Linked DNA regions of Homo sapiens: regions 1 and 3 are each linked to region 2. The links are contacts of gene promoters, found by promoter capture Hi-C in blood cells and fetal thymus (Javierre and others, 2016). All regions are on one chromosome and are shown on one strand. Each heading gives the region's core, a stretch centred on a gene start or on the middle of the fragment in contact. The rest is flanking DNA. Distances are from core to core; before and after follow the strand shown.

Region 1 (3,591 bases), core at 178-2,677, 160 kb before region 2:
TTCCTCTTCAGTTTCTTTCATCAGTGTTTTATAGTTTTCATTATAGAGATCCTTCACTTCTTTGGTTAAGTTAATTCCTAGGTATTTAATTTTATTTTAGCCCCCCACTCTTGAGGAGATGGGGAAGGATCCTGTCACTGGCCACATGGGAAATGCAGAGTTTGTAGTGAGAGGTTTCCCCTTTTCCCTCCCCTCACTACATCCAAGAATGGGAGAGGGAGAGAGTTTCCAAGAGAATCTGTAATAAAGATGATAGGGAGGGTGATGCCCAGAAGGGAGCACTTGCCTTCCTTTCCTTAACTGGATTTCTGCTTAGACACTGCATTTGCTGATCTGTTCCTAAGGAAGAAGAGGATTAGAACAAACTGGTAGGGTGGGGAGAGGCATGAGGGAAGAGCAGCTGTACTCCCATCCATTTTGTGCCAAGGGTCTGCAGTGTTTCCACAGGTCATGTGGTGGGCCACCAAGGAAGTCAACTGGGCTTGCACCATCTTGACTCCCACAAGAGCTGTCCTTAGGATGAGGGGTTGCCAGTAGCAAGAGGCCGTGGGATGCACGGATTGCTAATGGCAGAAACTGGGCTGGAAGTTCTATCTCTTATGTTAGGAAATTGGGCAGTGGGGAGGGCCCTACAGGAAACTCACATAGGTTTCAAAAGTGAATCAGATTTTGGAAACTTGCCTCTCAGACAGCAATGAGGCCCGGTCAATGCTGGTAAGAGATGTGTTCACAGTTAACTGAGTGAGGTCTGCAGCAGCAAGGTGGTTAAGTAGAGACATCCCCATCCATCTCAGACCTTCACCTTGATTAGCCAACATCCTAGTTCAGCTCTGTGTTTGGGGTTGAGGATTTGAAAGTTTGTGAAAGGAAATGATAAATGACTAGAGGGGCTCGTATTCAAAGGTGGGAATAAGGGTAACAAGGGATGAGAAACTGGAAAGGGGAAGGCTGTGGCAGACCCAGGGCACCATCATACGGCACAGACTCGGACACCCACTGTGGGTTGAGTCAGGGCAGACTCATCTGGTTTGCTTGGAACTTTTTCAGTTTTAAAAGTTAAAGTCCTTTGTTCTGGGAACCTCTTCAGTCTTGGACCACCCCGCACAGTTGATCGCTCAATCTGCCAGGAATCCTAGAGTGACCTCTGGCAGAGATAGTTATATTACTCCTATCTGACATCTCAACAGCTCAAAATGGGCCAGAGCCATCAGCTTATGTAACATTAACGTGTGGACCACTGGACTCTAAGCTGCAATGTGGATCATTAAGAGATAAGAGGAAGTATTTTTTGGCTATCGCTTTCAAAAGTCTAAAAATATATTAACAGCTGCAAGAAATCAGCATCTAAAGAACTTAAAAACAGAACTATTAATACCATTCAACCCAGTGATCCCATTACTGGGTACATACCCAGAGGAAAATAAATACTTCTGGCAAAAAGACTCATGCATTTGTACATTCATCACAGCACTATTCACAACTGCAAAGACATGGAATCAACCTAGGTGCCCATCCACGGTGGACTGGCTAAAGAAAATGTGGTACATGTACACCATGGAATGCTATGCAGCCATAAAAAGAATGAAATCATGTCCTTTGCAGCACCATGGATGCATCCAGAGGCCGCTATCCTAAGCAAACTAATGCAGGAACAGAAAACAAAATGCCACATGTTCTCACTTATAAGTGGGAGCTAAACACTGGATGTACACATGGATGCGAAGATGGAAATGATAGATACTGGAGACTCTAAAAGTGGGGAGGGAGGAAGGGGAAAGGGCTGAAAACCTAGCTGTTGGGTACTATGCTCACCACCCGCATGACGGGATCAATCATACCCCAAACTTCAGCATTACACAATATGCCAACATAAGAAACCTACACATGTCCTCCCTAAATCTAAACTAAAAGTCACATCCACGTAAGATGTCCAGGTTAGAAGAAATGTGCAAAACACTAAATTCCAAGCTCAGCAGAAAGATTCTGGTAACAAGGTGCATAGCCAATGCACTCACTTCAGTTGCTGGGCAGTTTCTTGAGCTAGTCCTCACATTCTGAGTAAGGCATCTCATTTGTTACCCTTGATTAATATTTTTGAGAATCAAATGAGGCATTGAACAACACTAAATGCTCTACAAGGCATTAAGAAAGCCAAAAGCCCTTGACATTTTTTTTCTATTCTTTCTCCCTCATTTCAAAACAAGACGTTAATATCACTCCAAGTTTATTGCGTAACGTAAGGGAGTGGGGGAAAACATAATGATTTCAGGAAAAGAAAGGATCTGCAATTGTTATACAATGAGGGGCAAAAGAAGCAAGAGAACAAATGATGAAATCTAATTATGCAGGGTGTTTCATCATTTTCAAAAATTGTTTTATATTTCACACAGAACTACAAGGAGAAAGGGTAAAAAAAAAAAAGTACTGGGTAAGGAAAAAGGAAAAGAGAGAAAGAGACTCCATAAGACCTCTAGTGCCTCATCTATCTGGAATTTGAATATATGGCAGTTGGGATTATCAGTATAAACAGGAATAAGAATCAAGCCAAAATTATTTTGCCATATTCCATGTGGTTATAAATAACAGTAAGTGGCTAATTTTGTATGGTTATTTCTGTAAGCCCTGTAAAGAGAAGGCTTTCATTTGTAAATGGAAGGTTTTGAGGATTGAGTTTCCCTGTTGTTTTGTGGTTTACAAACTCCTAGACACATTTATCTACATGGCAAACCTTGAAAGAAGACCAAAATTTTAGCTATACTCTTTACCATCATTTTCTTCTCATAAACTGGAGCTGACAAAAAGAAATTGACACTATACACGTTGCTATTTTTTCTGCATACTGATTCTCAGGCTTGGAGTTAATTTTTGCAGGGTAACCTTGGACTGTTTGTTTTATTTCATCTTTCTACTTCTCTCAGCTTTTACTAACTCCGGTCACACCAAAAACAAACAAACAAACAAAAAAACACACACACACAAAACTATGACATCAGACCAAAGTTACAAAGTTACCACAGGTCTAATCCTATTGCTAGGTAGTCATGCTTGCTGGTAAAACTGTTTTTGGCATCTTTATCACTATTCACCAAAACCGTAATTATCAGGTGACATCTCCAGGTCCCCAGGGGTGGGACCTTGTTGCATGGCCTCTGCTGCAGGTCATCTCAGACACACTGAGGTTTCCTACAACTTCCTCTGAGCCTTCCTTTGTTCTTTATTGCAGTAACTGGCTAATGCTAGATTCCAAGGTGGCATTCAAAGTCAATCTTCAAATTCCATGCCAAGTGGAGAAACATTTAATTCTGGGGTTGTTTCTAGAAGTAAAGTTTCATTTTAGCAATCTTGGCTTCTCTCAGGGTTTCTGACCTGTGACAACTGGGGTGTAAAGGACAACAAAATAATATTACATTTAAGAACAAGTGATGGGATTAAATGTTTATTTTTCATCTAAAACTTTAAAAAAGGAAGCAAATGAGTAATTCCGTGCTGCCTTTTCACAATGTCATGTAAAATATTGAGTGTTTTTTTAAATAAAACATTTTTTCCCATTGAGTATAAAATATACACACATGAATTACTGATTTATTTTTT
Region 2 (3,368 bases), core at 690-3,189:
ATCTCAAGTAAGGTGTCCAGGGGTCAGTTGCAACAGAAGGCACATTAGCCACAGCAGTCTCAGAGAACACTGCTAGAAGAAGAACCTACACATGGCCATGCAATGAGGCTGAGGGGCAGGCCTAAGTGGAAGCAGACCAAGTAAAGAGGTCAGAGAGCCCATGGAAGGAGAAGAGGGAAAGACAGTTCCAAGAGTAAAGCAGCCTAGGTTAAGGTGCAGAAAATTCAGCATGGATACTTTTAAGAGAGCTGTGCAAGGCTCTCCTTACCTAAAATCACACTCCGTATACAGACATACCCACAAACAATCACATCATGTTCTTTGCTCAAGATTGAACTTGCTGAAACTGTGATGTGCTACTACTCCTACCGGGGGTAGAGGGTAGTCTGCTGCTGTACTTCTCCTCTCTGGTTACTGATGCAATTATCTATAGAAGTATAATGCCGCTCTCTGTAAGCAATTTTAGGTAAAATCCATGGGATATTTTCACAGTGAGCTAGCCTACAGAGAGGGCAAAAGTTTCTGGGTTCTTAAAGCAGCTGCCGCCAATGCAAGCTCTGTACAGGAGGAATTTCTTTTTTTTTTTTCGTTTTATTATTATACTTTAAGTTTTAGGGTACATGTACACATTGTGCAGGTTAGTTACATATGTATACATGTGCCACGCTGGTGCGCTGCACCCACTAACTCGTCATCTAGCATTAGGTATATCTCCCAATGCTATCCCTCCCCCCTCCCCCCACCCCACAACAGTCCCCAGAGTGTGATGTTTCCCTACACTCCACCTCATGCACAAGCCCAAATATATCACAGCTTCTCTACAGAAATGCATAATTCACTGGCGAAGTTAATAGACATTGGCCAAGAGGATGATCTCCTCACTATGGAATCAGCTACAGTCTTAGGTAGCATGCAAACTCCAGTCTGACTCCAATCCCTTATATCTTCCATCGTAAAGTATTATTGCCAACTTTGTTTCTTTCCAATTTTTGTATGTTCTGCAGTTTATGTAAAGGCTAGCAAAAACATGAATACTTTATTATACATATGGCAAATAGTCTCAAATTGTAATGACTCATTTTTATCCTCTTATACTGTTGTAAAATTCAGAACAACATGTATTCACTATAGGAGTATGAAAATTCTTTTTACCAATGTACATTTTAAATAACATTGTGGTAAAGAGAAGCTACATATTTCACATTCTGATTCAACTCACTGTATCCAACGAGTAAAAGATCCTAGAAAGAATCTTACATTTCTAAAATTCTTATAGACTAAGAGTGAGCGATAGGAACAATAAAAATATTTCTGTAAGTGCTCTTGGTAAACAGTCTTAAAGTCAGAAGAACACTTATCCAAAATGCCCTACATTATTGTGCAATCAAAGTAGATAACTTTAACTTCAAAAACAACTCAGTCTTCCAACCCAATTCTTAAAACTCTAAGCTCTTCACAAAAAATTTTTAGCCAATTTAAACTTATTTCTACACTCAGTTATGTTTAAAACAACATAATGTTTGCATAATTTTTTAAAAAACATTCTAACTCAATGTTTTTATTTATCTAATATTAATTACCAGATATAAAATCTTTAAAGTAGCCCAATATTTTTCAAAATAATTTCTGCATAGATGATTGTCATTCAGTTTATAAAGGTTTATTTATAATTTTGTGATAGGAATAAGAAAAGACAAAACCTCTGAAACAAACTCACACACAAAAGCAAAATACAAAACAAAACAGAAAAAATACAGTGAACTTACTTCTGGGAAAATGGAAGCAAGGAATCTAGAGGTATGGTTTATCCACTGAGCTCCTTGTTTAGAAGAAAGTTATTCATATTTTCTCCTGGTCTCTACCATGTATCTAGAATTTGCTTTAACTATTTGACTTCTGTGAAAAGTTTCTGTGAAGACTGCTTTCAGAGTGGAGGTTATGATCTCAATTCTGTTGGCCCTGCCAAACATCACATTCACGTCATCATGCTTGGACTGTTTGTCTTCTCATTGATATTCGGCCAGTTCCTGCAGAGCAGTGGCATTTATACTGGGTTGCCTGGCTATATCATATTATAGGGAGCAATTTCTCTTTTACGTCCAAGATTATTGTGGCTAATACCAAAATTTAAAGTGCTGTCTTTAAGCCATGAGAAAGTAAACAGCTTAATCAGAGAAAAGCTCTTCTCTCTACCCAGAGCTCTAGTCTGCTTAATTGACAGCTTTACCTAGATAATCAAAATTTTCATTCCTCTGCTTCCCAGCTTCATTTTCACTCAGTTCAGACTATTTTCCAATTTATTTGACCCACGGATTAATCAGAAATGTGCTTAATTTCCAAGTGTCTGAAGATTTTCTTATCTTTTGGTTATTGATTTAATTTTAAATCAGAAGTTCAATTATACTCAGAAAAAATATTTTGTATGTCAAATTTGTTAAGGCTTATTTGATGACCCAGGATATGATCTATCTTGGCAGATATTCCATAGGCACTTGAAAAGTTGTATAGTTTTTTGGTGTTGAGTGGAATATTATATAATATCTATTACATTTAGTTGGTTGATGATATTGTTCAGTTTTTTCTATATTTTTCCTAATTTTCTGTCTCCTAGTTCTGTTGATTACTAAGAGAGGAATGTTGAAGATTTTAACAAAACTTAGGGACTTTCAAATTTCTCCCTTTAAAACTATCATGTTTTGCCTGATGTATTTTGCAACATTTGGAATTGTTATGTCTTCTTGGTGAATTGACCCTTTTATCATTATGTAATGTTAATCTTTATCTCTAGTAACTTTTGTGTTCTAAAGTCTACTTTGTTTCATATTAATAATATAGCCATTCTTACTTTCCTGTGATTATTGTTTTCGTGGTATTTTGTTTTCATCCGTTTATTTTTATCTACACACACACACACACACACACACACTATATGCTTTCAGAGTGGCAGTTATGATCTCAATTCTGTTGGCCCTGCCAAACATCACATTCATATTATATGTGTATGCGTGTGTGTGTATGTGTGTGTGTGCGTCTGTGTTTGTTATTATTTTTTTAAGATGATGGTCTTGCTATGTTGCCAAGGCTGGACTTGAACTCCTGGGTTCAAGTGATCTTCCCATCTCAGACTCCTGAGTAGCTGAAACTACAGATACATGCCACTATACCCAGCTCTAAATTGTATTTCAAGTGAGTTTCTTGTAGATGGCATATAATAGAGTCATGAGTTTGGTTTTTAAAATCCAATTTGACAATGCACATCTTTTAATGGGTGTGTTTAAATTATTTTCATTTTATGTAGCTATTGATTTTTAAAATCAGATCTGCCATTTTGTTATTTGCTTCTTTTCTCTCTGGTTTTAATTCTCCTA
Region 3 (3,394 bases), core at 319-2,818, 240 kb after region 2:
GGTAAGGCCATAGATTAACCGCATCCCAAGGCAGAAGAATTTTTCTTAGTACAGAACAAAATGGAGTCTCCCATGTCTACTTCTTTCTACACAGACACAGCAACAATCTGATTTCTCTTTCCTTTCCCCACACTTCCCCCTCTTCCACTGGACAAAACCGCCATCATCATCATGGCCCGTTCTCAATGAGCTGCTGGGTACACCTCCCAGAGCGGGTGGCGGCTGGGCAGAGGGGCCCCCCACCTCCCAGACGGGGCGGCTGCCGGGCGGGGGCTGCCCCCCACCTCCCTCCCGGACTGGGCGGCTGGCCGGGCAGGGGCTGCCCCCCACCTCCTGGAGGGGGCGGCTGCCGGGCGGAGATGCTCCTCACTTCCCAGACGGGGTGGCTGCCGGGCAGAGGGGCTCCTCACTTCTCAGACGGGGCGGCCGGGCAGAGACGCTCCTCATCTCCCAGACAGGGTGGCGGTCGGGCAGAGACACTCCTCAGTTCCCAGACGGGGTCGCGGCCGGGCAGGGGCGCTCCTCACATCCCAGATGATGGGCGGCGGGGCAGAGGCGCTCCCCACATCTCAGACGATGGGCGGCGGGGCAGAGACGCTCCTCACTTCCTAGACGGGATGGTAGCCGGGAAGAGGCGCTCCTCACTTCCCAGACTGGGAGGCCGGGCAGAGGGGCTCCTCACATCCCAGACGATGGGCAGCCAGGCAGAGACGCTCCTCGCTTCCCAGATGGGGTGGCGGCCGGGCAGAGGCTGCAATCTCGGCACTTTGGGAGGCCAAGGCAGGCGGCTGGGAGGTGGAGGTTGTAGCGAGCCAAGATCACGCCACTGCACTCCAGCCTGGGCAACACTGAGCACTGAGTGAGCGAGACTCCGTCTGCAATCCCAGCACCTCGCGAGGCTGAGGCTAGCAGATCACTCGCGGTTAGGAGCTGGAGACCAGCCCGGCCAACACGGCAAAACCCCGTCTCCACCAAAAAAATACGAAAACCAGTCAGGCGTGGCAGCACGCGCCTGCAATCCCAGGCACTCGGCAGGCACTCGGCAGGAGAATCAGGCAGGGAGGTTGCAGTGAGCCGAGATGGCGGCACTACAGTCCAGCCTCCGCTTGGCATCAGAGGGAGACCGTGGACAGAGGGAGGGGGAGGGGGAGAGGGAGAGGGAGAGGGAGAGGGAGTTTTTCTTTTTACCTTGCAATGCTTCTACTTTTCCAGTCTTTCCATTATATTCTTTTATAACATTTCTGATTCTGAAAGAAGATGAAGTAATTTTCATGTAAATGCATTTTCTAGTATTAATAACACAGATTACAGTTCATAACTAAGCCTGAACTTCACAGTAAAGGGTATCACTCTCAGTGGGATGTAAGGAGGGCAGTAATAAAAGCCCTCCCCTGACCACTCCCAAAAGAGATTTACACAGACCTGCTAATACTCTTATCAAACTTGGCATTTCATATATTCCAGCTATTTCTCTAAGTTATCAAATAAATAAGGGAAAGCTAAAATTGAAAAAAAAAAGAAGGAAAGAAGGAAGGGAGCGAAAGAAAAAAGGGAGAGAGGCTTTCCCTCAATCCTGAATCCCTCTCAATCATTATCTTTCACAGGCAAATTTGTCAAAATAATAATCTTTACTCCCTATTTCCATTGCTTTATCCCACATTTATTTCCCAACCTAAGACAACATAGCTTCTCACTATACTACTCCACAAAAAACTATTCCCAATGAAATTCACCAATGACCATTCTAGTTACCAAATCTAATGAACACTTTTTAGTCCTTATTTGATATACTTCATCACTGTTTTAAACTATTACTCACTCTTTTGTTTTCTTAAGTCTCTAACTCCCTGGCTTCTACACTTTGGTTCCACATCTTCCTCTTACTATTCCGTTTTGGCGTACTTTATGGACTCCTTAAATTGGATTTTATACTTGGCCAACTATTTTTCTTATTCTCAAACCTTTGCCATACAATCTTACCCACTCTCATGGCTTCAACTCCTACCTAAATTCTAATGATTCCCAAATTTGTGTTTTAGAGATTTCTTCAAAGTTTCAGATATTCTGCTTTTTACTATATATCTACACTTGGATATCAAACTGAACGCATTATATTTTCCTCTAAACTGGCCCACTTCCATTCTCTATCTCAGTTAGAATTTCTACTATCTACCCAGGAACTCAAGCTAAGAGCCTGAGAGGCATCCTTAACTCTCTCTCTCTCCCTTTTTCACCCCATCCTGTGACCTACAAAATTATTACAATTTAACTTCAAGAATTTATGAATTTAACTTTATAAATCTATTTGAATTTATCTCTTTACTACTTTTCTTGTGCCTTCTTGCCCAGGCTCTTGTCATCTTTCACCTCAACCAGGGCTATGACCTCTGTGCTTTATTTTTAATTGTCCCTTGTCTATCAGCAACAGTCTCTTTCCTTCTGCAATGCGGAGGACATATCAGAGACTACATTTCACGGAACCCTCTTTTCAGTATCAGATTTTGCTAATGAGAAGAACTTGGGCAAGATTTGGAGAGCAGAAATGAAGCAAGGTCATTATTCTCGGGTCACGTGAGCCAAGCATATACGCAGGCTCGAGGTTTGCAGCAGCTTCTCAGACTTCTTGACAAGGACTGCTTTGCTACTGCAGATTGAGATAACTGGTGAGAGATTTCCCAGAAAATCCCTGACATTTGCAGCAGTATACTGACAAACTTCTTGAAAAACACCCATTTCTGTGCATCAGGCTAAGGTCCTCAGTGGCTATTTCCTGACTTTCTGGTTGTAACTTAACCTTCTCTCCTCTAACTCTTGTACATTTGTGAATCCCTAATCCCTGTATTAAACTCCTTTACTCCCACAATATTTCCAGCAACTCACTTTTCCTGACCAGACCTAGACTGGTAAAATATCGTAAATATTTCCATTTCTCCAGTTGTGTCACCCTCAAATCCATTCTTCATAAAGCTGCCAAAGTGATCTATCAAAGTTCTGGTTACCTAATTTGCCTCCTTAAAATCATTCAGTGATTCCCCACACTATACAGGATAGCCTAATCTCCTTACCTTGGCAAGCAAAATCTTCCATGATCAGATTTGGTGCCTACCTCTTAAAGTTAACCTCTCTCTTTTCTTGTACTTTAAGGTCAGAAATGTTAGTTCCTTGTGTTCCCTATACATACACACTGTGTCTTGCTCTACTAGGTGGCTTATGCCATATCCCCTGTGTGGAAGGACCTTCACATACCCCACCATACTTTATATGACCAAGACCTTTCTCTTTCATAAGACTCACCTTAAGAGTCACCTCCTTTTGACTTTCCCCACTACACTACACTAGGTTGGATGATCCTTCTTTATTTCTTTTAATTCTCTGTGTTCAGCTCTACTACTTA

Evidence for each region. Contacts are between HindIII fragments. The CHiCAGO score rates a contact against its expected background, and 5 or more counts as called.
Region 1: a fragment that was not itself captured here is called in contact with the fragment with the promoter of ABCA8 in region 2 in 1 of 17 cell types (M2 macrophages); the score reaches 6.3 in M2 macrophages.
Region 3: a fragment that was not itself captured here is called in contact with the fragment with the promoter of ABCA8 in region 2 in 1 of 17 cell types (erythroblasts); the score reaches 5.3 in erythroblasts.

What each region holds. Positions count from the first base shown.
Region 1 is chr17:68,790,011-68,793,601 of GRCh38, forward strand. No RefSeq gene overlaps it. Among named protein-coding and RNA genes, the nearest start is that of ABCA8, 160 kb to the right of the region's middle. The HindIII fragment of the contact is 8,140 bases long and covers 1-3,591 here.
Region 2 is chr17:68,953,453-68,956,820 of GRCh38, forward strand. It overlaps ABCA8 (ATP binding cassette subfamily A member 8), which reads right to left and starts at 1,940. Exons shown (of 40, transcript NM_001288985.2): 1 at 1,767-1,940. The HindIII fragment of the contact is 10,640 bases long and covers 1-3,368 here.
Region 3 is chr17:69,195,876-69,199,269 of GRCh38, forward strand. ABCA10 (ATP binding cassette subfamily A member 10) reads right to left here. Exons shown (of 39, transcript NM_001377321.1): 11 at 1,189-1,247. Among named protein-coding and RNA genes, the nearest start is that of ABCA10, 31 kb to the right of the region's middle. The HindIII fragment of the contact is 5,558 bases long and covers 1-3,394 here.